4 separate regions of the Homo sapiens genome follow, and regions 1, 2 and 3 are each linked to region 4. Evidence: promoter capture Hi-C in 16 types of primary human blood cells and fetal thymus (Javierre and others, 2016). All regions are on one chromosome and are shown on one strand. The core of a region is centred on a gene start or on the middle of the fragment in contact, and the rest is flanking DNA. Distances in the headings are between cores, read along the strand shown. Region 1 overlaps GAS7 (growth arrest specific 7). Region 2 overlaps GLP2R (glucagon like peptide 2 receptor). Region 3 overlaps GLP2R (glucagon like peptide 2 receptor). Region 4 holds the start of GAS7 (growth arrest specific 7).

Region 1 (3,139 bases), core at 268-2,767, 260 kb after region 4:
CTGGATCTCAGGCCCTTCAGGCAGAGACAATTGTCAACAGCTTGGATTGCCCCGTTTCATACTCCAGTGCTTCTCTGGTGGCTTCCCCTGCCAGGATCACTGAGGGGACCTTTCTTTGCTGCTAGACTCCTAGATAAAATCAGGCAGTCATTTCCCATAAACACCCACCTCGGCCTGAGCCTGCGCCACCACCACACAGGGCTGGCCAGCCATCAGAGGGATCTGCTGTGCACTGTTGGGCAATTCTTCGCTGCTGGCTGCTCTGCTCCAGACCCAGAAGCCTCACCACATGCTGTCTTTTATTCAGCTTTTGCCACTCGACTTTAATGAATTCTCTGGGGGAAGTGGCTTTTGGATGATATTAAGTCAACAGAACATTCAGCCTGGATTTACTGGCTGTGTTGAAGAGGCTGGGAGCAAGAAAGCGGGGGTATCACTTGGAAGGGTCATGCGGTTAAAGAGCTCCAAATCATAGAGAATGTAGCCTGGGGCCTGCATTGGCAAGTCTTAGGGACTTCAGGAGATTTCTTCTACGTGAAGCCTCTCCTTGGAGTGGAGAAGTGATGCTGCTAAGAGGACTTGGCCCTTCTCTAGTAAGCTGTGGGCAGCATCAGGGCTCACAGCTAGAGAAGCAGTGCTAGAGGAGACCGTGCTTCCTAGGATGGCCGTGGGAGCCTTCTCTGCCCTGTGGCTGCATCTAGGTCACTAGACCCACACAGTCCATCTTCCCCACTCCTGGAAGCCAAGGAGCTGGGTTTTTCCTATAAGCAGCGCTGTGTGATACCTGCTGTTTGAAAAGAGCTTCTCCGGCTGGGCATGGTGGCTTATGCCTGTAATCCCAGTACTTTGGGAGGCCGAGGTAACCCCTCCCTGCAGCTGCTCTCAGTTGGTCAGGAGTTCGAGACCGGCCTGGCCAACATGGCAAAACCCCGTCTCTACTAAAAATATAAAAATTAGCCGGATGTGGTGGCACACGCCTGTAATCCCAGCTACTCGGGAGGCTGAGACAGGAGAATCGCTTGAACCCAGGAGGCAGAGGTTGCCATGAGCCAAGATCGCGCCATTGTACTCCAGCCTAGGCGACAGAGCAAGACTGTCTCAAGGAACAAACTAATAAACAAATGAAAAGAGCTTCTCCCTGGAATAGAACCTGTTTTCCTTCCTTGATTTATTAGCAGATGCTTGCACCCCTCATCAGCAAACCAGGGAGGGGTGATGTGAAAGCTCTGGGGACAGTGACGGCCCAGGGGTCAAGGCCCTCACTGCAGCTGAGGCTTTGGAATGTCCCCACACCTGCTTCCGGCACCTTCCTGGGTCCTTTCGAGCCTCTGGATTTCTAGGAATCCCCACCCCCCCCACCTCTTGGCTGTGCGCCACAGTCTGTTTCCTTAGCTCCAGAGGTAAGGTGAGCTCACTTGGACCTTGGTGGCTCATCTGACTCTGTGAGTTGAAACGTGATGCTCATGTCTGGTTTCTGCCTGACTTCTGCCTCATCCGCGTCCACATTCTCAGCTGTCATATACCTCCCCGAGACCTGGGGTGGAGCCCCACCATCCTGCCTCAGGAAGGGCTTTGGCTTGTGACCTGAGTCTCATGGTCTTTGTGTTGCAGCTCCTTGGGAGAGGCGTGGGCCCAGGTGAAGAAGAGCCTGGCGGACGAAGCAGAAGTTCACCTCAAGTTCTCTGCCAAGGTAACCCCTCCCTGCAGCCACCCTCAGTTGGTCTTACACACTGGGGTACTAAAAAATAGTTAACAACTGTCTCTCCAGTTTGCCGTTTGCCATTTTCCCTGGTGTAAACTTCAGGCTATCAACATGAAGTCACGGAATACGGAGTTGGGAAGAGATATCTGCCCAGTGGCTCACCATGAGGTGGTGCATTTTTGTATAGACACAGTAGCACAAATAACCATCAATATCCACCAAGAGCATGGAAAATAGTAAAGTGTAGTTAGGAGGTGGTAAGTGCTAGGTATTTATTGCCTTTGTTTTTTATGTTTTGTTATTTTTAAAAAGACAAGGTCTCACTGTGTTGCCCAGGCTGGAGTGCAGTGACATGATCATAGCTCACTGCAGCCTCAGCCTCCTGGGCTCAAACGATTCTCCCACCTCAGCCTCCCAAGTAGCTGGGACAACAGGTGTATGCAACCATGCCTGGGTAATTTTTTTATTTATTTGTAGAGATGGGGTCTCGCTATTTTCCCCAGGCTGGTCTTGAACCTCCTGGCTTCAAGCAGTCTTCCTGCCTCTACCTCCCAAAATGCTGGGATCACAGACATGAGCCACTATACCTGGCCTATTACCTTCGTTTTTAATATAATTTTTATTCAATTATAAGTTCATATCATTTCCTTTTTGATAATGGCCGTGTTTAACAACCAGCAAACAGAATTCCTGAAAATTTAACATTCAGCTCTTGGGAGCCACTGGGAGCAGGCCTTAGCACACCTGCCCAGTTTCTCAGGGCAGCCCCTGAGTGACGAAGCCCTGCTTTCTTTTTGCCTGGCTTTCAAAGGGATGGAGTAGGATGTCCTGTCTCTTCCTAGTGTCAGGGAACATTAGGTTATGCCAAAGGGAGAATTTTTTTTAAATTTGTGGTTGTTGCAAAATTTCAGAACAAGTAAAGGGTCCTTCTTTATTTATTTATTCATTTATTTATTGATTGATTTATTGATTTATTGATTTTGAGACAGAGTCTTGCTTTGTCGCCCAGGCTGGAGTGCAGTGGTGCGATCTCAGCTCACTGCAAGCTCCGCCTCCCGGGTTCAAGTGATTCTCCTGCCTCAGCCTCCCGAGTAGCTGGGACTACAGGCGCCTGCCACCACACCCAGCTAATTTTTTGTATTTTTAGTAGAGATGGGGTTTCACCGTGTTGGCCAGGCTGGTGTTGAACTCCTCACCTCATGATCCACCCTCCTCCGCCTCCCAAAGTGCTAGGATTATAGGCGTGAGCCACCACTCCCGACCATAAAGCATCCCTCTTTCATTTAATTCTGAAGATACTAGTGCCAGGACTCGAGGGCAGGGTGTTTCTGTCCTATTCCCATCCTCAGGGCTCAGGATGGTGTCTTGCATGTAGTAGATGCTTAATAAATATTTTCTTATTGAGTCATGAATGAACAGAGCCCTCTGACTATCTCC
Region 2 (3,221 bases), core at 42-2,541, 330 kb after region 4:
TGTGGTTTCCCTGCCATTTTCGTTGGCCACCTTTCTGTTTACTAGTTCTTTCTGCAGAGTGCAATAGAGTTGATTAACTAATGCTTATTCATTAGCATGTGTTCTTTCAATAGAACATCTGGCCCAGCAGTCCTCCACACTGGCTGTGTATCAGAATCTCCTGGGAGACTCTGCAGCAGGGGTATCCAACCTTTTGGCTTCCCTGAGCCCCGTTGGAAGAAGAAGAGTTGTCCTGGGCCCCATGTAAAATAAACTAACACTAACAATAGCTGATGAGCTAAAAAAAAAAAAAAAAAAAAAAAGTCCATGCATAGTTTTTGTGATATCCACCACAACGGATAAGCAAAAATGTCCTTCCATTCAAAGGGTTGGACACGGCTGCTCTGTGAGGTTCTATCCCGCATTTATGGAGTCAGAATACCCAGTGGTAGGGCTCACAAGGCTGCACTTCTGGCCAGCTGTCCGGGGATGCTGATGAGGAGCTATGATGAAAAACTATTTAGGGGTTGCTGTGGGTCTTGGGCATGGCGAAGGTGCCAGTGGCCCGTGATAGGCTTTGGGGGCACAAAGCAGCAGTGTGTCAGCTCTGAGTCCCTTTGGGGTCAACTGCACCATTTCTGTCTCCTGGAAACACTAGCCTCTGTCCACTTTCTGGGGCACCCTGGTTTTCCTGGCACCTGTTTATTGAGAGAACTCTCCTCCCTGAGTGCACCCAGCAGGGTGGACTAGAGCAGGCTTTGAAGCTCCACCCTGAAAGAGTGGTGAGAGAGGCTAAGCCTTTGGGAAGGGAGCCAGAGAGACTGCTTGGCCACTTGGAGCCTCGACTGGAGGCGCCAAGAGAGACAGCGTGGCTCCCTGGAGCCCAGGCCAGGCCGGCTCCCCAGGGCTACGGGTTTCTTGCAAAATGTTTGGACCAAAGCTCCAACTAGCAACTATAGTATGTCTGCCCATTATTGAACCGGGTATGTTTACCCTTCTAGACCTCCTAGAGGGAGGGTAGAGTGGCCACCCATATTTATAACCATATCTACAGACTCCTTGAATCCTCATAATAAGCAGGAGATGAGTCTGCAGTGACACTCCCATTTTTACACACCAGAAAGCAGGCCAAAGGGGCCAAGGCACTTGCCTAAGGCCAGTAGGCAAGTCTAGGGTCGTGGCCAGCTCCCTCCGTTCCACCTCCTGCTCCATGCCAACATCCTAGTCCTTAGCAAAGTAGAATGCATGCTCCTCAAATGCAGGGTCTACATCGTGTACACCGTTTTTTGTTTGTTTGTTTTTGAGATGGAGTTTTGCTCTTGTCACCCAGGCCGGAGTACAATGGCACGATCTCGGCTTACTGCAACCTCCGCCTCCCGAATTCAAGTGATTCTCCTGCCTCAGCCTCCTGAGTAGCTGGGATTACAGGCACACACCACCACACCCAGCTAATTTTTGTATTTTTAGTAGAGACAGGGTTTTGCCATGTTGGCCAGGCTAGTCTTGAACTCCTGACCTCAGGTGATATGCCCACCTTGGCCTCCCAAAGTACTGGGATTACAGGCGTGAGTCACCGAACCTGGCCTCATGTCCACCTTTTATTCCAAGCACAGTACCAGGCACATTGTAGGCATCTATTAAATATTTGTCAGATAAAAGGAAAAACTCCCTTCCCAGCACCTGGGTGAGGCCTTATAAAGGGGAGAGAAACAGGGCTAGGGCCATCTTCACTCGTGCCCACCTCTTCTGCCTTCCTGTGTGGACTGAAATTCCTACTCTTAGAGCTACTCTGTGGGTTAAAACACTCCCGTTCCAGAGCCCTGCTGAATGCATATGCCACATAGAAAGCAAAGAATAGGCCACGTGTGGTGGCTCACGCCTGTAATCCCAGCACTTTGGGAGGCCAAGGCTAGTGGATCATGAGGTCAGGAGTTTGAGATCAGCCTGGCCAACATGGTGAAACTCTGTCTCTACTAAAAATACAAAAATTAGCCGGACGTGGTGGCAGGTGCCTGTAATCCCAGCTACTCAGGAGGCTGAGGCAGGAGAATGGCTTGAATCTGGGAGGTGGAGGTTGCAGCGAGCTGAGATCATGCCATTGCACTCCAGCCTGGGCGACAAGAGCAAGACTCTGTCAAAAAAAAAAAAAAAAAAAAAAGAAAGAAAGTAAAGAATAACTAGGAAAAGAGGGAGGAAACCCTTTATCTCTCTTCATTCATTCATTTGCTTTTACAACAATGCAGATCTAATAAATACCTATGATCTGACTGACTATGAATGAGGACTGCTGTCATCTCAGAAAGAGGAAGGTGAGATGCAGCGACAACAAGTCACAATTAAAGGATGCCTGTGGAAGGATGTCTTTCCTTAGACCCTAAAAGTTTGTGGTCTCATTTCTCAAGGTCTCAAAAACACCCAAATAATCTCTTCTCTTCAAATCCTTCCCCAAGGAAGGCAACTGCCAAACTTCTCTTCAAACAAGACTGTCCTTTTCCCACAACCACCCATTCTTAGAAACTTTTTTTTTTTTTTTTTTGAGACAGGGTCACCCAGGCTGGAGTGCAGTGGCACAATCATGGCTCACTGCAGCCTCGACCTTCTGGGCTCAAGCAAGCCCCTCACCTTAGCCTGGGACTACAGGCATGCACCACGCCTGGCTAACTTTTGTATTTTTGGTAGAAACGGGGTTTCACCATGTTGTCCAGGCTGTTCTCAAACTCATGGCCTCAAGTAATCCTCTTGTCCCAGCCTCCCAAAGTCCTGGGATTACAGGTCTGAGACATCACTCCTGCCCTCTTAGGGGCATTTTAACAGTTTTCTGCTGGGGGATGTGAATGCCCTTGACTACTCACCATTTGCTTCATCGTCATAGAAGGTCCTCACCATTGACAAAAGCCTCACTTGATCCTATAGCACCTTCCCAGAACTGCTCTTTCTGATACCCTGGCCTTAGGAGATAAATGTCCTTCCCAAGACAGCGGGCAGAACAGCCAGAGTACTTACAATAACCTTGGACTGCTGGGGACCAACCTTAAGCCACTCACCTGTATTTATAATCTCTGAAGCACATTTGATGAGCTTTGAGCTTAGAAATGAGAAGCTTGAGAATTTTCAGGAAGATGAAGAAATTGACCTTGAAAAAAAGAGCAGAATTGGGTAAGTAAGTGACGAATTCCACATAGCTGTGAACTTCAAGGTCAGGCTGGGCTCGGCCATCAGTTCCATCAGTTCAATGTAAACCA
Region 3 (3,166 bases), core at 59-2,558, 310 kb after region 4:
AACACACTGGTGGGGGTTATTAGGATGAGAAGAGCAGGCAGAGGCTGTGAGCATGACACACAGCCTCTTTCATACAGAGCTTGAAGAACCTTGTGATAGCTTTCATATCAAAGTGGCATGGTGAATGGAACGAGAATGATTCCGTGCCCAGCAACGTGTGTCCTGCTTTGCTTCCTCTTCCTGGGCCCCCTCAAGAGTCCCTGGGAGCAGAGCCAGGGTGGTGGAACTCCACCCTAGATCTCACTCTCTTCCAGAATCTCCTCCATGGTGTTGGCCATGGTGACATCCCCCTCACTGCACTCGGACAGGCTGCTGCCCCGGGGCCAGCGTGCATGGTCCTGTTGGGGCTGGGCGCCCAGCTCCCCAAGACCTCGCATGGCTAGATGTAGGAGCCGCCCACTGTTAAGTGAGGGCTGCAGCTTCCGAAGCTTCTCAGCGCCATCTCCTTCCGAGAGCTTCTTGGGACATTTTCCTAGGAACCGGAAGTCCTTCCCCAGGACACAGGCTCTGCAGCCTGAGTGGCGGGCTAGCAAGAAGCGGACCCAGTATTTCCGCAGCTCAGCCTTCACCTGCCGGGTGAGACAAGTGAGAGGTTACTGTCTTGGAGTCATTTAGCCATGTGTCCATTTAGCAAATATTAATTGAGTAGCTACTCTGTGCCACCCTTGGGAAATTTACCTTTTAACTGGGGGAGACAAGGAGAAACAAAGATACATAAACATGTCTGGTGGTGATGACACTGTGAGAGTACTAAGCAGGACAATACGGTAAAGAAACAAAAACTTAAGACAGGGTGTTCAGGAAAGGACTCTGCCGGGGTGGCATGTGAGCTGAAACCTGCTTGATAGGTGAGGAGCCCCCTGCATGAAGATACAGAAGAAGCAGCAGTGAGCAAAACAGAAGATGGTTTTGCTGTCAAGAAGCTTACATAGAATGTGAGCTATGTACATTCTATGTAAGTGGAAGTACATAATGGGAGGAGACAGAAATAAATATTTACACTTGTAGTAGGGCGAGAGGAGGTTGAAAAGGGGTTGGAAACTCTACCAACTCCTAAAGACAGGAGAAAACACCTGTTCTGGCCTCTGCCCCTCCCACTGTCAAATCTTTTCCCAGGGAAGCAGAGAGCTGGTTGGGCTATGCAATAATATGAATAACTAAAAGCAATAATAGGCCAGGCTTCATGGTTCATGCCTGTAATCCCAGCACTCTGGGAGGCTGAAGCAGGTGGATTACTTGAGATCAGGAGTTTGAGACCAGCCTGGCCAACATGGTGAAACCCCATCTCTACTAAAAATATAAAAATTAGCTGAGTGTGGTGGTGGGCACCTGTAATCCCAGCTACTCAGGAGGCTGAGGCATGAGAATCGCTTGAATCTGGGAGGCAGAGGTTGCAGTGAGCTGGTATCATGCCACTGCATTCCAGCCTGGGCAACAGAGTGAGACTCTGTCTCAAAAAAATAAAAATAATTTTTAAAAAAATGTAATCATAGTTCCCAGGTGTTGAGCATTTATTTGCTATGTGCTCAGCATACCCAGAGCAAGACTACAAAGCAGGGATGATTGTTGCTCCCATGTTACTGATGAGGAAAGTGAGGCTAAACAAAGTGCGGTGACCCAGCTAACTCACAGAACTCCTGAGGGTGAACCAAGGCGTGAATTCAGATTTTTGGACTCTGAGGTTCAAGCTTGTTTCCTCTGTCACATTTGAATACTCCTTGCATCTCCAGCAGAGCCAGTGCTGGCTTCTGAACTCCCTTATACCCATCCCGACACCTTTTTTCCATTTGTCTAAGCTGCCTCCTGCTCTCTGTACCGGAAGCTCACAATACAAATTTGTCCCCACACATGCTGGTCACTGCACATTCTCCCGTAGCATCATCCCATCCACAGAAACCTCCAGAGGTGGGTAGGGTTGCAGTCCCAACCTCACATGAAACCAGGATGGCAACGTGGAAATCATACCTCTCCATTGGCAAAACCATACTGCAAGGCCACCAGGAACCCCTGAAACAAAAGGAGGACATGGCATAAAATCTGACTCCGGAGAAGATGTGTCTGAGAGTTACTGGCAACGTCCAAAGCCCTGCACAGGTCGTAAGGAGTCTCCAGAAGAGGCGTGCAACTGCATTGCTTACACTAACTAGAATTAGTCATACTGGTTACATTAACTTGGATTTCCATGGCATCTGTTCTTACTTTGACATCCAGCGCCCCGCCCGCCCTGCTCCGCCTATATCAGCCTAGGTGTTTGCTTAGATTGTTCACAGGTGCACATGGGTCAATGATGATTAAACCCCCAAGACCTTGTGTCATTCATTCAATTATACAAATATTGGGCAAGGTCACTGTTGCATCTCTACTTGGTCATAGTGGGCACTGGCTAATGTTTGTTTATTTGTTTGTTTGTTAGAGATGGAGTTTCACTCTTGTCGCCAGGCTAGAGTGCAGTGGCTCAACCTCGGCTCACTGCAACCTCCGCCTCCCGAGTTCAAGCATTCTCCTGTCTCAGCCTCCCAAGTAGCTGGAATTACAGGCGGACGCCACCACGCCCGACTAATTTTTTGTATTTTTAGTACAGACGGGGTTTCACCATGTTGGGCAGGCTGGTCTCAAACTCCTGACCTCAGGTGACCCGCCTGCCTTGGCTCCCAAAGTACAGGGATTACAGGCATGAGCCACTGTGCCTGGTCCTTTTTTTTTTTTCTTTGCCTGACTTGCATCCTTTCCTTTTGGCCCCTGACCCTCCCTACTCTCTGAGCTTCTGGCAGGGCTGTCAGTCATGTGGTTCCCATGTTCCAGGATGACCATCGCCACAATACTCAGCCCAAAATGGGCTGGAATCTAAGGTGCTCCAGTTAATGCTTGTTTCCATTGTCTTTCTCAGGCTCCTACATATCCTGATTTGTCAGATAGTCACTGTGATCACCTACATGTCCTGGCTGTCCCTAATTGATGTAAGGGTCTGTGGAATTTGGGCAGTGTGTCTGATATATTGGAACTGGATGTGTGTGCAGGGCCCAATGCTTGCATGTTTATAGAAAATGCCAGAACTCACAAGGAAAGGATGCATTTCCAACTAAAGAGTGAAGGTCCCAGTGGCAGGCTGACTCCTCTTATATCTCTTGATGATAATGAAATGTGGCACTGGGGAAGGCTTTTCTGC
Region 4 (3,164 bases), core at 596-3,095:
AGACTTTGCAATTGATGGACTATTACAAATAATCTGCTTGTGTCACTTTGCCCATGGCCAGAGAACAGATGGAGGCTGCTCAGGTGAGATGGCTTAGCTGCAGACTAGGGCTCAGTAGTGACTCTTAAAACCTGGGCATGAGTATTTTTAAAAAGTTGCATAATGACTGTAATGTGCAGCCAGGATTGAGAACCATTGAACTAGGTGAAAGGCTCTGTGCCAGGGTCTGATTCAAAGCATAGACAGGTGCGCAAGATCTTCAGGCTCTTGGAGCCCGGCCTGACTGGTTTTGTAATGGATATCTAGGCAGTCATAGTAAGAGGTGAAGCTAGAGGAGGCGTTGTGGAGGGCCTGAAATGTACAGGCAGAGAAGTTTGTACCAAATTTAAAAGGCAATAGGGAGCCACAGAAGGTGACTGGGGGAGGGGGGAAGGAGTAGACAGAGGTATACAGGCGTATTAAAGGGTCCAGCTTTTTTTTTTTTTGAGACGGAGTTTCACCCTTGTTACCCAGGCTGGAATGCAGTGGTATGATCTCCGCCCACTGCAACTTCCACCTCCCGGGTTCAAGCCATTCTCCTGCCTCAGCCTCCTGAGTAGCTGGGATTACAGGCACCCGCCACCACGCCCGGCTAATTTTTGTATTTTTAGTGGAGATGGGGTTTCACCTTGTTGGCCAGGCTGGTCTTGAACTCCTGACCTCAAGTGAGCCATTCGCCTCAGCCTCCCAAAGTGCTGGGATTACAGGCGTGAGCCACCGCGCCTGGCCGAGTCCAGCTATTTACAGGCTAAAAAATGTACTTTATTTTATTTCTTTAAAATTTTTTATGGAGTAGACTAGCAAAGAAACCAAGCTTTCTTTTACTTCTGTACGGTCAGTTCAAGGTCAACATTCTGCAGCACTCAGGTTCACTGGTCCCTGGAGAGCAGGGACTGGCCCAAATGATGTTTGTAGTACCTGGCACATCGCATGGAACATGGCAGCCTCCTGGTAATGTTTGTTGACTGACTACATGAGTGTAGACTCTTTAGCCAACCCATCTCGATTTCGGGAGGGCTGGTACCCTGGGCCGGCCTTCCCTCTGCAAGTAAAAGCATTGGTGCTGTTCCTCTCACCGTTCGCCTTTCCTCCATTTATCCCCATCGACTGTTTCCAATTCTATCAACTCCGACCCCGTCTTCTCTCCATTCCGTCCCTCCAGCGTGCCACGCTGCCACCAGGCTGCTGGGCTCAGGCGCCAGGCTTCAAACCTGTCTTTCACCCATTGTTCAGTTTCCGGTGAGACAAGTTCAACCCCAGGTTCAACCACTACAATGACAACCACAAACGATCCCTCGCAGACACCTCGAAGAAGCCGCCCGCACGCCACGGGCCGCCAGGCCTACAAAGCAGGCACAGAACAGAGGGGCGTTTCCATTCCCGCGGTCCCCGGCGGTGGGGGCGCGAGTGGGAGCCCCTCTCCCCAGTGACAGGCCCCTCTGCGAGGGAGCGCGCAGCCCTCCGCGGGCGTGGCCGCCCTGGCCCCGCCCCGGCCCGCCCCCTCGCCAGTGAGCTAACCCCCGCCCGGCCACCCGGCCGCCAGCTCCTCTCCACGGCCGCCCGCCGCGGAGTCCTGCCGCGGGGGATGCTCCGGGTCCCACCTCCCGGGGGAGCTGCGCATTTCCGCGCGCCAGGGCGGCCCCGGCCCCGGTCCCGGCCCCGGCCCCGGCCAGCCCTCGCGGCGGCAGCCCGCGTTCCGCGTTCCCGGGAAGTTGTCTCCGGAGCCCGCGGCGCCTGGGTCTCCTCCCCCTGAGCCCCGCCCCCCAGCCCAGAGCTAGGATCCGCGAGCTGCCCGGCCCGGGGGCGTCGCCGCTCGCTCTGCGAAGCCAACGAGTCTCTGCTTCCCGGCGCGGAGCGCGCGTCCCCCGCCTGCCTGAGGACCCCCGCGCACCCCAGAGACGGCGCGCGCCCAGAGCGCGGGAGCCCGGAGCGCCGGGCGCCTGGGACCCCGCGGAGCCGCTGCCCAGCCCGTGGGGCTCGGCGGGAATGCAGGCTGCGCTGTGAACCCGGGCGCCAAGGCCATGTCCGGCGCTCGCTGCCGGACCCTGTACCCCTTCTCCGGGGAGCGGCACGGCCAGGGGCTGCGCTTCGCCGCGGGCGAGCTGATCACGCTGCTGCAGGTCCCGGACGGCGGCTGGTGGGAAGGCGAGAAGGAGGACGGGCTCCGTGGCTGGTTCCCGGCGAGCTACGTGCAGTTGCTGGAGGTAAGGGGCGAGGGCCGGGGCTGTAGGAGCCGGGGCTGCGGTCCTCGGTGCGCTCGCGTACCTGTTGCCCGTTCCGGGGATGCCGCAGCGTCCCGGTCGGAGGGGCGCCCCGGGGGGCAGCCCTTGCCGGCGCTACCTGTAGCTCCACGCTCCTGGGGGGCAGCGACGGCAGCGGGCGCCCCTCGGGGCGTGGGCAACGCGGACTCGCGGGGAGCTTCCACCTTGCGCCGGGCCTCCGGAGCACACCGTGGCTGCTCTGAGGAAGCGAGAACTTGTTGCCTGTGTGAGTTAAGGAGCAGGCGGGAGCGTTCCCGGCAGTGGCAGGGGCCGGTGAAGGGTCTGGCGGTCTTGGGAAGAGGCACGGAGGATCAGGGGTGCGAGAAAGTGGCACCGACTCGGTCCCGCAGCCCCGCGTCTCCACCCCGGAGTCTAGAGCCTGATGACCCGTGGACGGTCGTGCTGCCTTGGGTCAGGCTGCCTGGCCGCCTCGGGACCACCCACTTGCTGGTCAGCCGAGCCTGCTGGCCACCAGCCCGAGCCCCCTCAGCAGGCTTGATCCTGGGGTGCCGTAGCACCCCCCGCCACTGCCTGCTCCCCTGGTCCAGCTCCCCGAGGCTAAGGCTCAGAACCCGAAAGTGGCTTGTTCCTGGGGTTCTGGCCTGGCCCCAGGGCTGCACAGGACCTGCTGAGGCAAGGCGGCTGGCTGTTTATTGTCTATGTGACAGGCTGTCCTCTAATCACTGAGCTCGCAGTCACAGCCTGAGTGAGACCCGAAGTTTCTAAAGTCCTTTGTGTGTGGGGGGGTGACCTTCCAGGACATCCCCTTTACTAGAAGCCCGCCTGCCCCCAGGATTCTTGTAAAGACTAAATTAACAGTTACCTTCAATGGTGTCAGTATTCCTAAACATTCTGGTAAAACAC

The links. The method cuts DNA at HindIII sites, captures the fragments that hold promoters and counts their contacts. A CHiCAGO score of 5 or more calls a contact.
Region 1: a fragment that was not itself captured here is called in contact with the fragment with the promoter of GAS7 in region 4 in 6 of 17 cell types (neutrophils, monocytes, M2 macrophages and 3 more); the score reaches 18.2 in neutrophils.
Region 2: a contact is called between a fragment that was not itself captured here and the fragment with the promoter of GAS7 in region 4, in 1 of 17 cell types (M0 macrophages). The highest score is 5.1, in M0 macrophages.
Region 3: a fragment that was not itself captured here is called in contact with the fragment with the promoter of GAS7 in region 4 in 1 of 17 cell types (M0 macrophages); the score reaches 6.3 in M0 macrophages.

The regions. Positions count from the first base shown.
Region 1 is chr17:9,932,717-9,935,855 of GRCh38, reverse strand. It overlaps GAS7 (growth arrest specific 7), which reads left to right. Exons shown (of 14, transcript NM_201433.2): 9 at 1,612-1,690. Among named protein-coding and RNA genes, the nearest start is that of RCVRN, 29 kb to the right of the region's middle. The HindIII fragment of the contact is 9,972 bases long and covers 1-3,139 here.
Region 2 is chr17:9,870,638-9,873,858 of GRCh38, reverse strand. It overlaps GLP2R (glucagon like peptide 2 receptor), which reads right to left. Exons shown (of 13, transcript NM_004246.3): 10 at 3,024-3,112. Among named protein-coding and RNA genes, the nearest start is that of RCVRN, 33 kb to the left of the region's middle. The HindIII fragment of the contact is 3,580 bases long and covers 1-3,081 here.
Region 3 is chr17:9,886,773-9,889,938 of GRCh38, reverse strand. It overlaps GLP2R (glucagon like peptide 2 receptor), which reads right to left. Exons shown (of 13, transcript NM_004246.3): 12 at 1,966-2,007; 13 at 1-569. The coding sequence ends at 234. Among named protein-coding and RNA genes, the nearest start is that of RCVRN, 17 kb to the left of the region's middle. The HindIII fragment of the contact is 765 bases long and covers 926-1,690 here.
Region 4 is chr17:10,197,287-10,200,450 of GRCh38, reverse strand. It overlaps GAS7 (growth arrest specific 7), which reads left to right and starts at 1,845. Exons shown (of 14, transcript NM_201433.2): 1 at 1,845-2,243. The coding sequence starts at 2,061. The HindIII fragment of the contact is 8,346 bases long and covers 856-3,164 here.